2 separate regions of the Homo sapiens genome follow, and region 1 is linked to region 2. Evidence: promoter capture Hi-C in 16 types of primary human blood cells and fetal thymus (Javierre and others, 2016). All regions are on one chromosome and are shown on one strand. The core of a region is centred on a gene start or on the middle of the fragment in contact, and the rest is flanking DNA. Distances in the headings are between cores, read along the strand shown.

Region 1 (7,075 bases), core at 1,866-4,365, 88 kb after region 2:
TGACCTCATCTGTGAAATGGTGGTGAGAGGGGAAGGGACATTTACAGCCCTTTTCTCCCTCCCTTGCCCACAACTACTGTGCCCCAGCATGGCACCCGGGTCAGCCCCTGCCAGCTCTGGAGCTGTCATCATCTCTCCCTCTTATGCCTCTTCAGTGGACTGTGGCCAGGCTCCCCTGGACCCTGTCTACCTGCCGGCAGCCCTGGAGCTCCTAGACGCCCCTGAACACTTCCGTGTGCAGCAGGTGGGCCACTACCCACCTGCCAACTCCTCTCTGAGCTCCCGATCTGAGACCTTTCTGCTCCTACAGCCCTGGCCCAGGGCCCAGCCACTTCTCCGGGCCTCCTACCCACCTTTTGCCACTCAGCAGGTAAGGAGGGGGCACCGGGGACTCTCAGGCTAACAGGACTCAGGGCCTGAGGTCTGCTGGGTACAAATTGGGAGCCTTCCCCAGCCCCGGCTGTGCTCCCCATATTCCAGAGGGGGAAACTGAGGCCCATAAAGGTTCTCTTCTGCCAAGCTGGGATCCCATCTTCCTAGATCTTCCCCTCCCAAGCTCCTCTTTTGTTAAGCCCTCTCATTCTCCCTCCAGGTGGTCCCCCCTCGAGTCACTGAGCCCCACCAACGGCCAGTCCCATGGGACGTGCGGGCCGTTTCAGTGGAAGCGGCTGTGACTCCAGCAGAGCCCTACGCCCGGGTTCTCTTCCACCTCAAAGGGCAGGATTGGCCACCAGGGTCTGGCAGCCTGCCCTGTGCCCGGCTCCATGCCACACACCCTGCCGGCACTGCTCACCAAGCCTGCCGCTTCCAGGTGAGTAGACAGGCCCCACCTAGGCTGGTCCTGCTGCAGCTGCATCAGCCAGGTGGTGGGCCCGCGGCAGAGAGGAAACCCCCACTCCTGGGAAGCGCGGGGGTTGTGGACCACCCGACTCCATTTCTGCCCCCACTAGCTTTCAGTGCTGTGAAAAGGTTATTTAGGGCCCCAGAGGGAGTTCAGTCCTTGGTGTGTGACTTTGAGTAAGTAACTTAATCTCTCTGAGATTCAGTTTCCTCATCTGAAGAATGGGGTGTTAAGAATTCCTACCCCATCTGGAGTTGGAGTAAGGAACAAGTGAGATGAATGTAAGGATAGCTTACGGCAGAGTAATCAATCAGCCAGTGTGTTTGCATTATTAGTAGTGTTACTTTTATAATTGCTATTTCCACTATTTTGGAGTCTAGCACAGGAATCCATGGGAGAGGCGTCTCTTGAGCTTTAGGATTCTGAGAAGAAGACTGGATTCTAGGCAGGATAGTCCTGGGCTTGGTTAGGGTAAGGCCCTGGGATTGGCTTACTTTGTAATGAGACCTATCCCAAGGGCTGAAGAGTGGTCTGCGGACATGCTCTGAAACCTAGACCTGGTTTGAAGCCCCAGCCAGGTTGCTGGTTTGCTGTGTCACTCAGGCTGTGTCTCCGGCCCATGCTGGGCCTCCCTTTCATGAGCCCCTCCAGCTCTGGGTTTCCTGCCATGGGTGCTGAGAATCCTGTTCCTCGCCCTGCACCCACCCCCATGCCAATTACTGCTGTCGTGTCTTCACAGCCATCCCTGGGCGCCTGCGTGGTGGAGCTGGAGCTTCCCTCGCACTGGTTCTCACAGGCCTCCACCACACGGGCCGAGCTGGCCTACACGCTTGAGCCTGCAGCTGAGGGCCCTGGGGGCTGTGGCTCCGGCGAGGAGAACGACCCTGGGGAGCAGGCCCTCCCAGTGGGGGGTGTGGAGCTGCGCCCAGCAGACCCCCCGCAGTACCAGGAGGTACCTCTGGACGAGGCTGTGACTCTGCGGGTGCCTGACATGCCAGTGCGGCCCGGCCAGCTCTTTAGTGCTACCCTCCTGCTTCGGCACAACTTCACAGCCAGCCTCCTGACCCTGCGGTGAGCACCAGGCCACGGGGATGGGTGAGGGTGGGAACCTCTGTGGGAAGACTAGGGACAGGTACCTGCTCCTCCTGGGGTCCTTGCTGGAATCCTTGACCTCTGCAAAACATGTGTCCACCAAACTAAACTCCTTCCAGGTAAAAAGCCATGACTGTGCTGGTAGGAGCCCACCATGGGCACAGCCCTGGAATTAGAGTCAGAAGTAGGAAGCTGCCCCTTCCCCTGGCACCTCCCTGAGATTCCTTTGTCCAATGGGGCTAACGGTCCACCTTCAGGGCAGCTGCAAGTCTCCAGGGAGGGGAACCCGCAAAGGGCTTAGAGACTGCAGTACCTAAGTGTGAGCTCTTGCTCCAGTGCTCCAGAGAGGGATATTTGCCCCAATCACGTTCACCTACATGCTGTCCCTCCTTGCCACCCTCGCCGTAGGAGTCTAGCCTTTGGACAGAGCTTGCTCTTCCCCATAGGAAGGCCCTGATTCTTTGTGTCCTTTTCCGTAATAAGTTCCCCCAAAGCAGCCCCCACCCACCTACCCAGTTCACCCGGCAAGGGCTTGCAGAGTATGACTTGCTTCTGGAGTCCAGCGCAGGAATCCATGGGAGAGGCATCTCTTAGGCTTTAAGATTCTGAGAAGCCTGAGTTCTAGGCAGGATAGTCCTGGGCTTGGTTAGGGTGAGGCACTGGGACTTGCTCACTTTGTAATGATATCTTTCCTGAGGATCGAAGAGCGGTCTGTGGACATGCTTTGAAACCTAGACCTAGTTTCAAGCCCTGCCTGGGTTTGTGCATGTCCCGTCTCTGTGTCTCCCCATCTCCTACGCCCTCCTATGCTCACTCTTATTAAGCAGATCTTTCCTAGACACTTACAGCCTGCCAAGCCCTGTGTCTTCACTCTGCAGATCCAAACACGAGCAAGGGCCAGTCCCTATCTGGCAGAAAGGGGCCCCAGTGGTAGGGAAGGGAGCTGGATGGGCATGAATTGGATTAGAAGGCATGTGGGTGTGTAAGCACTGAGGGAGGTTCAAAGTGCGGTGGGAGCTCAGGTGAGTGGGTGCAGTAAGGGGGAAATTCATCCCACCACTGGAAAAGCTTTCTAAAGGAAATGGTCTGTGAGTTGTTGGAGGCTTAAAGCATCAGCAGGTAAAGTAAGAAAGGGCAGAGCAGGCTGAAGGCACAGACTGGGCAAAGGCTTGGAGTCACGAATGGGTGCCGTGTGTGTGGGAAACTTGTGTGTAGCTGAAGCAGAGAGTGCATGGAGAGATGTCACAACCGAAGTTAAGGCTGGACCAGACCCTGGAGGGCCCCCAAATGCCCGGCTAAGCTTTGACCTTATGGGCAGTGGGGAGGCGTAAGTGGTCTTTGGGTGGGGGAGAGCTGTAAGGTGTGAGCTGCACTGAGGCGGGGTCCTTCTGGGTTGGAGGATGGTGAAGAGGAGATTCAGACTGGAGCCAGGGAGGTCAGATGGCTTTGGCTCCTTGTCTTTCCCCTTCAATCCAGCCCACAGTTCAGCATGCACCTTGCCAAACTGAGCCTATACTCTCTTCCCCAGGATCAAGGTGAAGAAGGGGCTGCATGTGACAGCCGCCCGCCCAGCCCAGCCCACACTCTGGACTGCCAAGCTGGACCGCTTCAAGGGCTCCAGGCACCACACCACCCTCATCACCTGCCACCGTGCTGGGCTCACAGAGCCAGATTCCAGGTGGGCAGTTTCCCTCCACCCAGGGGGCAAAGGAGGGAGGGCTGGTTATAGAGTGCAGTTGAGCAGATTTGGAGGCTGCCATGCTGCCTCTAGATCCCCAGGTGAGCAGACCCAAGGACAGATTTTTTCAAGGAAGCAGCACAAAGCAGGCATAATCCATTCCTTCATTCATTCATTCGGCCACTATCTTCCCAGCCCCAGCCATGTGCCAGGCATAGCAAGTGTCTGTGAGTCTTATTCTAAGAGATGCCAACCAATCCTGTGCCCCAGGTAGAGCCCTCATAGCCACTACTCCATCCCCCTGCTTCCACCAAATGATCCTTTCTCTGGGCCGTTCACATTCCCCCAAAAAGCCCAGCTGCAGTTCTGCGGTTGTGAACTCTTCTTATTCATGCCCTGAGCCTGGGTCAAGGCCATGGACTCAGTAGCCCCAGTTCGAATTCTGGTTCTGATGCTTTTGGGATGGGCAAAACCTTGGGCAAGCCAGTTAACATTCCCCTACCCAAGCCTCAGTTTCTTCACTTGTGAAATAGGAATAATAATGCATCCCTTAGCATTTTTGAAAATAAAATACAGTGCTACATATCAGGCACCCAGGACGGTTCCCAGCACATAGGTTTTTGTTTGATCAAAGGAAGCTTATCATTCAGAGGGTCAAGTGTCTGGTCCTGGGACCTGGAAGTGAATCTCCCGCATGCCACCTCAGTGGCTGTGGAAAGCGGAAGTCTGGGGGAAGCGGGCCCGGGCAGGCAGGGGAGTGAGCCACCTTGCCAGGTGGGAGGTGGTTAAATGGCTTCATGGATCTTAGAGAGGCCAAGAGTGGGTCAGAGTTTGGGGTCTAGAGCGAGGATGCTTGGGTTTAGATCCCAGCCCCGCTACTTTTTGCTGTGTGGTCTTAAGTGAGCTATGTAACCTCTGTGCCTCAGTTTCCTCCTGTGTAAAATGGGGATAATCATGAATGCAGGAAGTGCTGAGGCCATGCCTGGCAGCTAGCAAGCATTTGGCTTCTCTGTCTCCTTTGGCCAGCAGTCCCCTTGAACTGTCTGAGTTCCTATGGGTGGACTTTGTGGTGGAGAATAGCACTGGTGGGGGCGTAGCGGTCACTCGCCCCGTCACGTGGCAGCTGGAGTACCCAGGCCAGGCCCCTGAAGCAGAGAAGGACAAAATGGTGTGGGAAATCCTGGTGTCTGAGCGGGACATCAGAGCCCTTATCCCACTGGCCAAGGTAAGGAGACCTCCATCTCTGCCTGGGAAGGCTGGAGGCCAAGTCCCAGGAGCCCCATGAGCTGAGGGGCCTGGGGCTGAGCCCCTCCTCCACCCCCAGGCTGAGGAGCTGGTGAATACAGCACCACTGACTGGAGTGCCCCAGCATGTCCCCGTGCGCCTTGTCACTGTGGACGGCGGGGGGGCCTTGGTGGAGGTGACAGAGCATGTCGGCTGCGAGTCTGCCAACACACAGGTCCTGCAGGTGAGTGGCAGGTGCCCAGCTCATGTGAGTCTGCATTTGTGTGGGCACAGTTACGCACACACACCTTTCCTCCTTCCTCATGTGGGTCCCCAAGAGAACAGCTTCTTCTTGAGACGAGAAACCTCATGGGAGGAACCACAGCTTCAACTTCTTTTGTTCCAGCCACCTCTCTCCCGAGTCAAGTAACCCTAACAGCCCCCCGACCTTAGACACTTTCACGCTCATTATTGCACTGGCAAGTGCGCTGGCCTGAGAGAGTCGAGAGCACATACTCTGGGATCAGAAAGTTTTAGTTTGAAACACATCTTTGTTGTCAACCAGCTTTGTGATCATGGGCTGGTCTCTTAACCTCTCTGAGCCTCGTTACCTAAACTTTAAAATGAGAACATATCTTCGGGTTGTTGTAAGAATTAAAAGCACTTTAAGACAGTATTTAGCAGATAGCAGGGGCTGAAACAATGGCAGTTATTGCTGTTATAATATGATGTAATAATTATACAATGGTAAAAATTATTATTATTATTATTACCGGTGATTGTGAAGTGAAATAAAAGGGAGGGTGGTAGAGCAACTTCCTCTATCTTGAAGTTCTAAGAGGGGAAGCATGGAGTCTGCATGTATGCAAATCCCAGCCACCTGAAGGGGGAAGGTGCCTTTCCCCACTTGTGGTCCTTTGCTCAAATGTGTGTGGTTCCTGCTGGAGGGCCTTGGTGGGAGATCTGCTTTGTCCCACCTCTGCCTACCTGGCTGTAGCTGGTTGCCAGGTGGCTCCAAGAGCAATGTCAAAGGCCAGCATGAATAAGGAGCCAAAGTTTTGGGTTCACACCCCTGCTCTGCCAGGAGGAAGACTGGTATGCAATGGCCAGTTCCCCTGACTGAGCCCCAGGGAACCTCAAGGAATGGCCCCTACAGTAAAATCTTAAACAAAGAACAGGGGCTTAACCAACAATCCTGCTGCAACATGCATTCCAGTGACACACAGAGCTGAACTCAGTGGGAGCCCGTCCTACGGCCTGAGGTCAGGGCTGCTCTCTTCTGGCCCATGCCTTTTTTTTTTTTTTAATCTATTTATTTTGAAACAGAGTCTCACTCTGTCCCCAGGCTGGAGTGCAATGGTACAGTCCGGCTCACTGCAGTCTCAGCTACCCAGGCTCAAGGGATCCTCCCACCTCAGCCTCCCCAGTAGCTAGGACTACAGGCATGTGCCACCACACCCGGCTGATTTATTGTATTTTTTGTAGAGAGGGAGTTTTGCCATGTTGCCCAGGCTGGTCTCAAACTCCTGGACTCAAGCGATCCACCCACCTCGGCCTCTCAGAGTGCTGGGACTACAGGCATGAGCCACCCACCCGGCCCAGCCTCACACCTGTCTTTAGTGGCTTAGCCCGCCCACCTGCCCTCTGCCCTTCCATAGGTGTCTGAGGCCTGTGATGCCGTGTTCGTGGCTGGCAAGGAGAGCCGGGGCGCCCGGGGGGTGCGAGTGGACTTCTGGTGGCGCCGGCTCCGCGCCTCGCTGCGGCTGACCGTGTGGGCCCCCCTGCTACCGCTGCGTATCGAGCTCACCGACACCACCCTCGAGCAGGTCCGCGGCTGGAGGGTACCTGGCCCTGCTGAAGGGTGAGTGGAGGCCTGAGGAAGCTGGCAGGCCTTGGCGAGTCACACTGGGACGGAGAGGGCGCAGGGGACACAGCCATGGGCCCAAGTCGGGGTCAGAAAAACTGCCCTGTTGCTTGCAGTTCCTTCTGCCCACCTCCACCCTGGGCCGCCCAGCCAATGATCGCTTTCTGTGAAATTGCTGACTTCCGCATCCCTCTCCTCCTTCCCTGCCTCACTTCTCCCGTAGCACCCTCCACTTCCTAATCTACGTCAGTACTGGTTAATGTTGCCTGTCCATCCTTTCCACGCTCCTCCCCCGAGAATGTCAGCCCCTTGAAGCTGCGGTCTGTCTATGCTGGTCGTACCCTCAGAGCCTAAGATGACACAGAGCTCAGGAAAT
Region 2 (7,119 bases), core at 3,324-5,823:
ACAGCCACGGGAACCAGACTGAGGGTTTCAATCAGATGTCCATGGGGTGGCTTGAATGTGATCTTGACCACACTGATACAGATCATGGAGTAGGGAGGTGACAAATCCACTCAGCCGTCCATGGGGCAGTCAACCTTAGTGCCACAAGGAGCTCTGGGCCCCACATTCTGGAAGCATTGTAGAGAACTGGTGTCTTTCCCAAAGACTTATCATGTTATGGGAGGAACAGGAGATGCTTAACCTGGATAAAAGACAATTCTGGAAAAGCTACAAGAAAACTGACTTCAAATACTTGAGAGAGCTTTGAGCAAAAGACAGAGCAGCTTGGATCTTTGTAGCACAATGAAGATTAGCTGAGGCCCAGTTGCACCTCTGCCCATCTGGGTCCTGCCTTCACTCCTGCCATGCTCAGCAACATCCTCGTTGCCAATGACACCCCAGACTGAGTCAGCCCCATGTCCCAGTCCTAGGCCTGGTGGAGGTGGAGGTTTAGGGCTTAGAGTCAAGAAGCCCTGAGCTCCAGACCTCACCCTGCGCCCTTTTTGTGTCACCCTGGCCCCGAAGCGCAGCCTCTCTGGGAGTGGGATTTCCTGGTCAGTACAATGAGGATGATCACCCCAGCCCTGTAAGGTCCTAATGAGGATCCATTCATTCAACAAATACATATCAAGTACCGTGCTCCTGCTGAAAATCACCCTCCCGAACCGGAGCTCTGGGGAGCACAGGAGCACCCAGAAGAGGTCTGGCGCGTGGTAAGTGCTCAGTTAATGCTGCTGATGACCGCCAGGGGCCCTTTCCCTGCCCTTCTCTCAGAGTTGGCTTCTGGAGAAACACAGCCTGAAACACCGGGGCAAGCAATGATTGGTCCAGGCATTGTTTCAAGCACTCTGCAAGTACACCACCACACCAGGCTCTTCTGAAAATTTCAGGAGTCTCCTCTGGGCCTCTGCACACCATGTATAATGACAATGACAAACTGAGCTCAGGTGGGAGTAGGGGGTTCTGGGCCAGAGCCCACCTGATGCTGAGGTTGACAAAGTGTCTCCAAGTGTCTGGGGGCCACCCAAAGGCCTCCTCTAAAACACATCTCCCTCTCTCTGGTGAAAACCTGAGATCACCCTCTGAAGTATTTCAGGCAAGGCTAGGTGTTGAACAGAAAGCCATGGGGACCCAGGTCTCTGACATCTGGGGACTGTCAGACCCTCTCAACTGTAGCACCCCTTAGCTGGGGGGAGGTCAATGACTCAGAGGAGAACACCTGATCCTATCTTCCATCCATCTGCCAGCGCTTGGTTTCCATCAGTCAGCAGATCTCAGGTTACATAAATAAACTGGTATTGCTGATTCGGCACATTCTGCACGATGGTGTGTGCCAGGTGGTACCCACCTCCTCCCAGCACACAGACCAGAATCAGTGTGACGAATAGGTGAGCAAGGCCCATGTGGGGGCAGCTGCAAGGCAGCTAAGCATGCCACCTCTGGAACCACAATCCTGGCTCCTGAATGTGCCGCTGTCTGATTTTGGGCAAGCACCTTAGCCTTCCCATGCCTGATTCCTTGCCTGGATAACAGGCAGATTTACTGTTAAGAGTTGTGGCTCTGGAATCAGACAGTCTAGGTGTGGATCTTGCCTCTACCACTTATTTGCTGTGTGACCTTTACAAGTGTCTCAGCCTCTCTGTGCCTCAGTCTTTTTTTTTTTTTTTTTTTGAGACAGAGTCTTGCTCTGCCACCCAGGTTGCTGTGCAGTGGCACGATCTTGGTTCACTGCAACCTCTACCTCCCAGGTTCAAGCAATTCCCCTGCCTCAGCCTCCTGAGTAGCTGGGACTCGAGGCGCCTGCCACCACACCCAGCTAATTTTTGTACTTTTAGTAGAGATGGGGTTTCATCATGTTGGCCAGGCTGGTCTTGAACTCCTGGCCTCCAGTGATCCGCCCACCTTGGCCTCCCAAAGTACTGGGATTACTACAGGTGTGAGCCAGCGCACCCAGCCTCTCAGTTTCTTTATCTGTAAACTGGGAGTAATAACAACTGCACCTGCCTCACAGGATTGTTGGGAGAAGCATTAAGAAATGGATTTGTACTTGGAGAGTACTTGAAACAATGCCTGGACCAATCATTGCTGGCACCAATGTTTCAGGCTAGGTTTCTGCAGAAGCCAACTCTGAGAAGAGGATTAAGTACAATATTTGTCTGCTCTGAGAATGACCTCAGCAAGCATCTATAAGAAAGTGGGGAAGTGAGACAGGGATGAAGCCAAAAGAGGGTCCATGAGCAGATTACCTTTGTGGGCAATGCAAGTTCAATCCTGTTGGTGGCCTCTGGGGGCTACAGAGAAGCCCCTCAGTATCCTACCACCTAAAGGCAAGAAAGCTGTGATGTAGAAAGCTGCAATAAAAGCAAAGGAGTGGCCAGGCACAGTGGCTCACGCCTGTAATCCCAACACTTCAGGAGGCCGAGGCAGGAGGATCACTTGAGCCCAGGAGTTCAAGACCAGCCTGAGCAACACAGGGAGACCCCGTTTCTACAAAAAAAAAAAAATAGCCAGGCATGGTGGCATGAGCCTGTGGTGCCAGCTACTCAGGTGGGAGGATCCCTGGGGCCTGGGAGGTCAAGGCTGCAGTGAGCTGTGATTGTGCCACTGCACTCCAGCCTGGACAACAGAGCAAGACCCTGTCTCAAAAATAATAATAATTTTTAAAAGAAAGCAAAGGAGTGTAAGGAGACAGGGTCCCAACAGCGATCGCCACACCAGGCGCTTCTGAAAATTTCAGGAGTCTCCTCTGGGCCTCTGCACACCATGTATAATGACAATGACAAACTGAGCTCATGTGGGAGTAGGGGGTTCTGGGCCAGAGCCCATCTGATGCTGAGGTTGACAAAGTGCCTCCAAATGTCTGGGGGCCACCCAAAGGCCTCCTCTAAAACACATCTCCCTCTCTCTGGTGAAAACCTGAGATCACCCTCTGAAGTATTTCAGGCTAGACTAGGATATGATCCAATCGGCACTGGAGAGTGATCCCTCCAGCTGGGGACAAGAGCTTAGGAGGCAGGGCAAGCCAAGGGGGACTGGAGCAGGGCAGAGGGGCATACAGTCTCCTCCAGCACTCTGGCAACACCTGCCGGGCTTGGTTCTGAGTGTCAGATCATTGGGGTCTCCAGGCAGGGGCAGGGCATTTAAGGAACTGAATGGAACTCACTCCTCTGACAGTTGGGGGGTGGAAGAGCTGGGCAAGGAGGTGTCCCGGCTGCTTCTGCTGTGGACAGCTGCATGGCCGGAGAGGAGCAGTGAGGCAGGCAAAGCCCCCCTGCAGGGGTCTCCTTGACTCAGGAACATGAGGAAGATGAGGACACTCTGATCCCTGATATTCTTGGACAATTTCCCAGGCCCTCTCACAAGCCCGCAGCTGGAGAAACAATGGTTTCTAAAAGAAACCACTGGAATGTCAGACGGGGCCCTGGGACCTTTAATGGCCAACCCCAGGCAGTTCCAAGAATTACACAACTGGGCCACTTCCAAGATGTTCTTCCTAAGAAGCATGCTGTAAGTAAATCAAAGCCCCACTCCTAGGTCTCACACGAAAGTCTCCACAGCCCCACATTCCCCAACCCCACATCCCGAGAGTCTTCTCTAGGCCTTGGGAGGTCCAGAAGTCAACACCTGCTCACTGGTGAGGTCCCAAAGTGCTTAGTAAGCAAAGTACATTTACAGGTGAATAGCAAGGGAAGGGAGGGGAGGCGAAGCAGGTTCACACACGAGCAAAAACCACTGTCTGGGCTGAAAGGAAGATCGGAGATGATCCAACCCGTTTCTAGAACTGGGGTAGAAGAAGAGGGACGTGGGAGGATATGCAGCTGGTCGAGGGCCCAGGTGAGCCACAGGACAAAGGTGGTGCATCTTATTGGTACCTCAACTTCCCTCACAAACGTTGAAAACGCTGAAAAGGGAGGGAGAGCTATGGATTATATACGGAAGCACAGGACGGAAGAATCAAGAGTGTGAACAATTAACACAGAAAAGACCGATCTTCCACCTCCAGGACCCCCAGGTAGCAGTCCCTCAGGTAGGTGGGAGGAGGACTCTGACAGGATCATTTGGGATGCACGAAGCTAGTGCAAAATGACCCCTATTACAAATGAGAAAACAGGCCCAAGGAGGGCAGGACTCTGCCCAACTGCACCGGAGTTGGCTGCAAAACATCCACTGGGCCTTGCCTATGGGCTCCTCGGACCTTTTTTCGACTCTGTTCTCTCCCTGAAATGGGTCCTCCCACTTTCCCTTTTCTACTTGCTCGCTCTTCTTTCCCCAGGAAACTTTGCAAGAAAGGCAAAAGCGAATCCCAGGAAAAAGACTGGCTCATCAATCACATGTTGACTGCGCTCGCGCGAATTGCGCATGCGCATGCTGAGCCCCACTCTCCCCAACCCCGGTCCCGCCTCTCCACCCCTCACCAACATGGCCGCCTCAGCAACAGCCCCCCTCCTGTGCGTCACGGACGCGGCGACTCCTGACGTCATAGGAAGGCGCCGGTTTCGGCGGGGGCTGCACGTGCGCAGGGGTGTGGAAACTTACCGGCTGAGCCATGGATACACCGTTAAGGCGCAGCCGACGGCTGGGAGGCCTAAGGCCCGAATCCCCCGAGAGCCTCACCTCAGTTTCGCGGACGAGACGGGCCCTTGTGGAGTTCGAGTCGAACCCAGAAGAAACGAGGGAGCCCGGGTCTCCTCCGAGTGTGCAGCGGGCTGGCCTGGGGTCCCCCGAAAGGCCGCCGAAGACAAGCCCAGGATCACCCCGTCTGCAGCAGGGTGCAGGCTTGGAGTCACCCCAAGGGCAGCCAGAGCCAGGCGCAGCGTCCCCCCAGCGTCAGCAAGACCTACACCTGGAGTCGCCTCAAAGACAGCCAGAGTACAGTCCTGAATCCCCACGATGTCAGCCGAAGCCAAGTGAGGAGGCACCAAAGTGTTCTCAGGACCAGGGAGTACTGGCCTCGGAGTTGGCCCAGAATAAGGAGGAGCTGACCCCGGGGGCCCCCCAGCATCAGCTACCGCCGGTCCCAGGATCACCAGAGCCTTACCCCGGTCAGCAAGCTCCCGGTCCGGAGCCCTCTCAGCCACTACTGGAGCTGACACCCAGGGCACCTGGCTCCCCCCGGGGTCAGCATGAGCCGAGCAAGCCACCTCCAGCTGGGGAGACGGTGACAGGCGGCTTCGGGGCAAAGAAGCGAAAAGGTTCTTCATCCCAGGCCCCAGCGTCCAAGAAGTTGAATAAAGAGGAGCTTCCTGTAATCCCGAAGGGGAAGCCCAAATCGGGGCGAGTGTGGAAGGACCGCTCCAAGAAAAGGTGAAGTGGGGGACAGCATGGACAGGGGTGGCGTTCTCTATGGTGTTGGGACCCCGCCTTTGCCCTGCTGCAGCCTGGAGAATAGCCCCAGGGTTAGAGAGAGCTCACGTTAGTGGGGATGTTAGCAAACAGGTAATTACAATCAGAATGTGGTAAAATGCCCTGGGATCCCGGAGAGGGTGGGGCCAGGCCCTCAAAGATCAATTTCTCTGATGCCTTTCCTCCTCAGGGTCCCTATGGGCCTCTCCTGTAGCACCTCAGGTCTGTATTCGTTCAACAGACATTTACCGTTGTCTGCCCTCTCTAGTGAGAGAAGCAGAAGCAAGTAAACCAGCCATTACTTGATCAAAGCAGTGAGGTCTTCATCCAATATAGTCTATTACAGTTATTTGCCTTTAAGATAAAAAGTATTACTGAGCACTGATTATATAAGGATTTACCAGTCAACAGCCTTAATAAGGATTTACCAGTCAACAGCCTTTCAAACATGGAACAGCATGTGTCATCACGCTTAATCTGCACGTCAGCCCTGTGAAGCAGGCGGTGTTATTATTCCTGTTTTTTGTGTGAGGAAACCAAGGCTAAATGAGTGGTAGGCACAGGACCTGAGCACAGATCTGATTCCGAAGCCTGTGTGCAAAAAACCCCTTTACCCAATCCCTGTAGATCCACCTTGAATTGGATTGCGACCTTCTTAAGGGGCAGGCACGAGATCTTTCTTGTCTTTCTGTGCCAAGGGCATAGTAAATGCCCAATGAATGCTTATTTAATGAAGGAACGAAGTAGCTCATCTGAAGAAGGAAGAGTGTAGGCTGCCATGAAGGAGAGGTGTGGGATTCAGTTCCAATTCGAGCTAATGGGAACCACAGGGGAGAGTCAGGGATGTATGCCTGTGAGGGACCATGAGGAAGGAGGGTGTTTTTAAGGAAGAAGCTGACTCTGTGCCAGGCTTCGTGCTAGGCCCTTTTCTTGTATCCTTAAAACCCTAGGCTGTGGATATTATCCCCCCACCCCTGATGAAACAGAAGAAACTGAGGCTTACAGAGTAATTTACTGCAAGTCTCCCATGGGAGAGACTTTGAGGCTAGAGTGACTGTAACTGTTGGAGAAGTGGATGATGGCACTACCCCTCTGCCCTGTCCCAGGGGGTCACAGGAGAATGGCAGGGCCGTTGATGGCCATGTGGAACTGGAGGAGGCTGGTTCAGGTGGGAAGAGGGTGATGAGCAAGTTGAGCGGGTGAAGCTTGGGGTCCTGGTACTCACGCTGCAGGTGGGGAGATGGGCTTGCTGAGCTAGAGGGGGCTGGGCCCATGCAGAGGTGGGGAGAAGGGAGGGGCCCACACAAGACACAGGATCAGCAGCTGGAGCAGAGTAGGAGGCCACAGATCACTTGACCAAGAAGTCTGGAGAGAGGGTGTGTGGTTCCAGCTCCCTGCCCAACTGCAGACCCGTCCTGACTCACTGTTGCTCACTCAGAGCATGCACTCCAGACTCCTTAATGAGGCCGGCAGGCCCACCCTCCTCTCCCCTCCATCACTAGAGCTTCCACACTGTTGTCCCCTCCATGTTCCTCCCATGTGTGACGCTCCCTCCTTCCTCAGCGCCTTCACACGTGCTGTTCCCACTGTTTGAAAGGCTCTTTCCCTGGCCAGTCCCCCACTCATGTTTCAGGGCTCAGTTCAAATGTCACCTCCTCTGAAAAGCCTCTCTGGCTTATCCAACTAGGGTTAAGTCCCCATGCTTTATGTTATCATTGTGTGCTGTACTTCTCTTTT

The links. The method cuts DNA at HindIII sites, captures the fragments that hold promoters and counts their contacts. A CHiCAGO score of 5 or more calls a contact.
Region 1: a contact is called between a fragment that was not itself captured here and the fragment with the promoter of CCDC86 in region 2, in 2 of 17 cell types (total CD8 T cells and naive CD8 T cells). The highest score is 5.2, in total CD8 T cells.

What each region holds. Positions count from the first base shown.
Region 1 is chr11:60,927,049-60,934,123 of GRCh38, forward strand. TMEM132A (transmembrane protein 132A) reads left to right here. Exons shown (of 11, transcript NM_178031.3): 2 at 156-370; 3 at 593-811; 4 at 1,581-1,912; 5 at 3,462-3,611; 6 at 4,641-4,836; 7 at 4,936-5,079; 8 at 6,494-6,696. Among named protein-coding and RNA genes, the nearest start is that of TMEM132A, 6.1 kb to the left of the region's middle. The HindIII fragment of the contact is 232 bases long and covers 3,000-3,231 here.
Region 2 is chr11:60,837,540-60,844,658 of GRCh38, forward strand. It overlaps CCDC86 (coiled-coil domain containing 86), which reads left to right and starts at 4,574. Exons shown (of 4, transcript NM_024098.4): 1 at 4,574-5,343. The coding sequence starts at 4,586. CCDC86-AS1 (CCDC86 antisense RNA 1) reads right to left here. Exons shown (of 2, transcript NR_182293.1): 2 at 4,267-4,441. RefSeq lists enhancers at 3,664-4,863, 4,770-4,999. The HindIII fragment of the contact is 9,112 bases long and covers 1-6,585 here.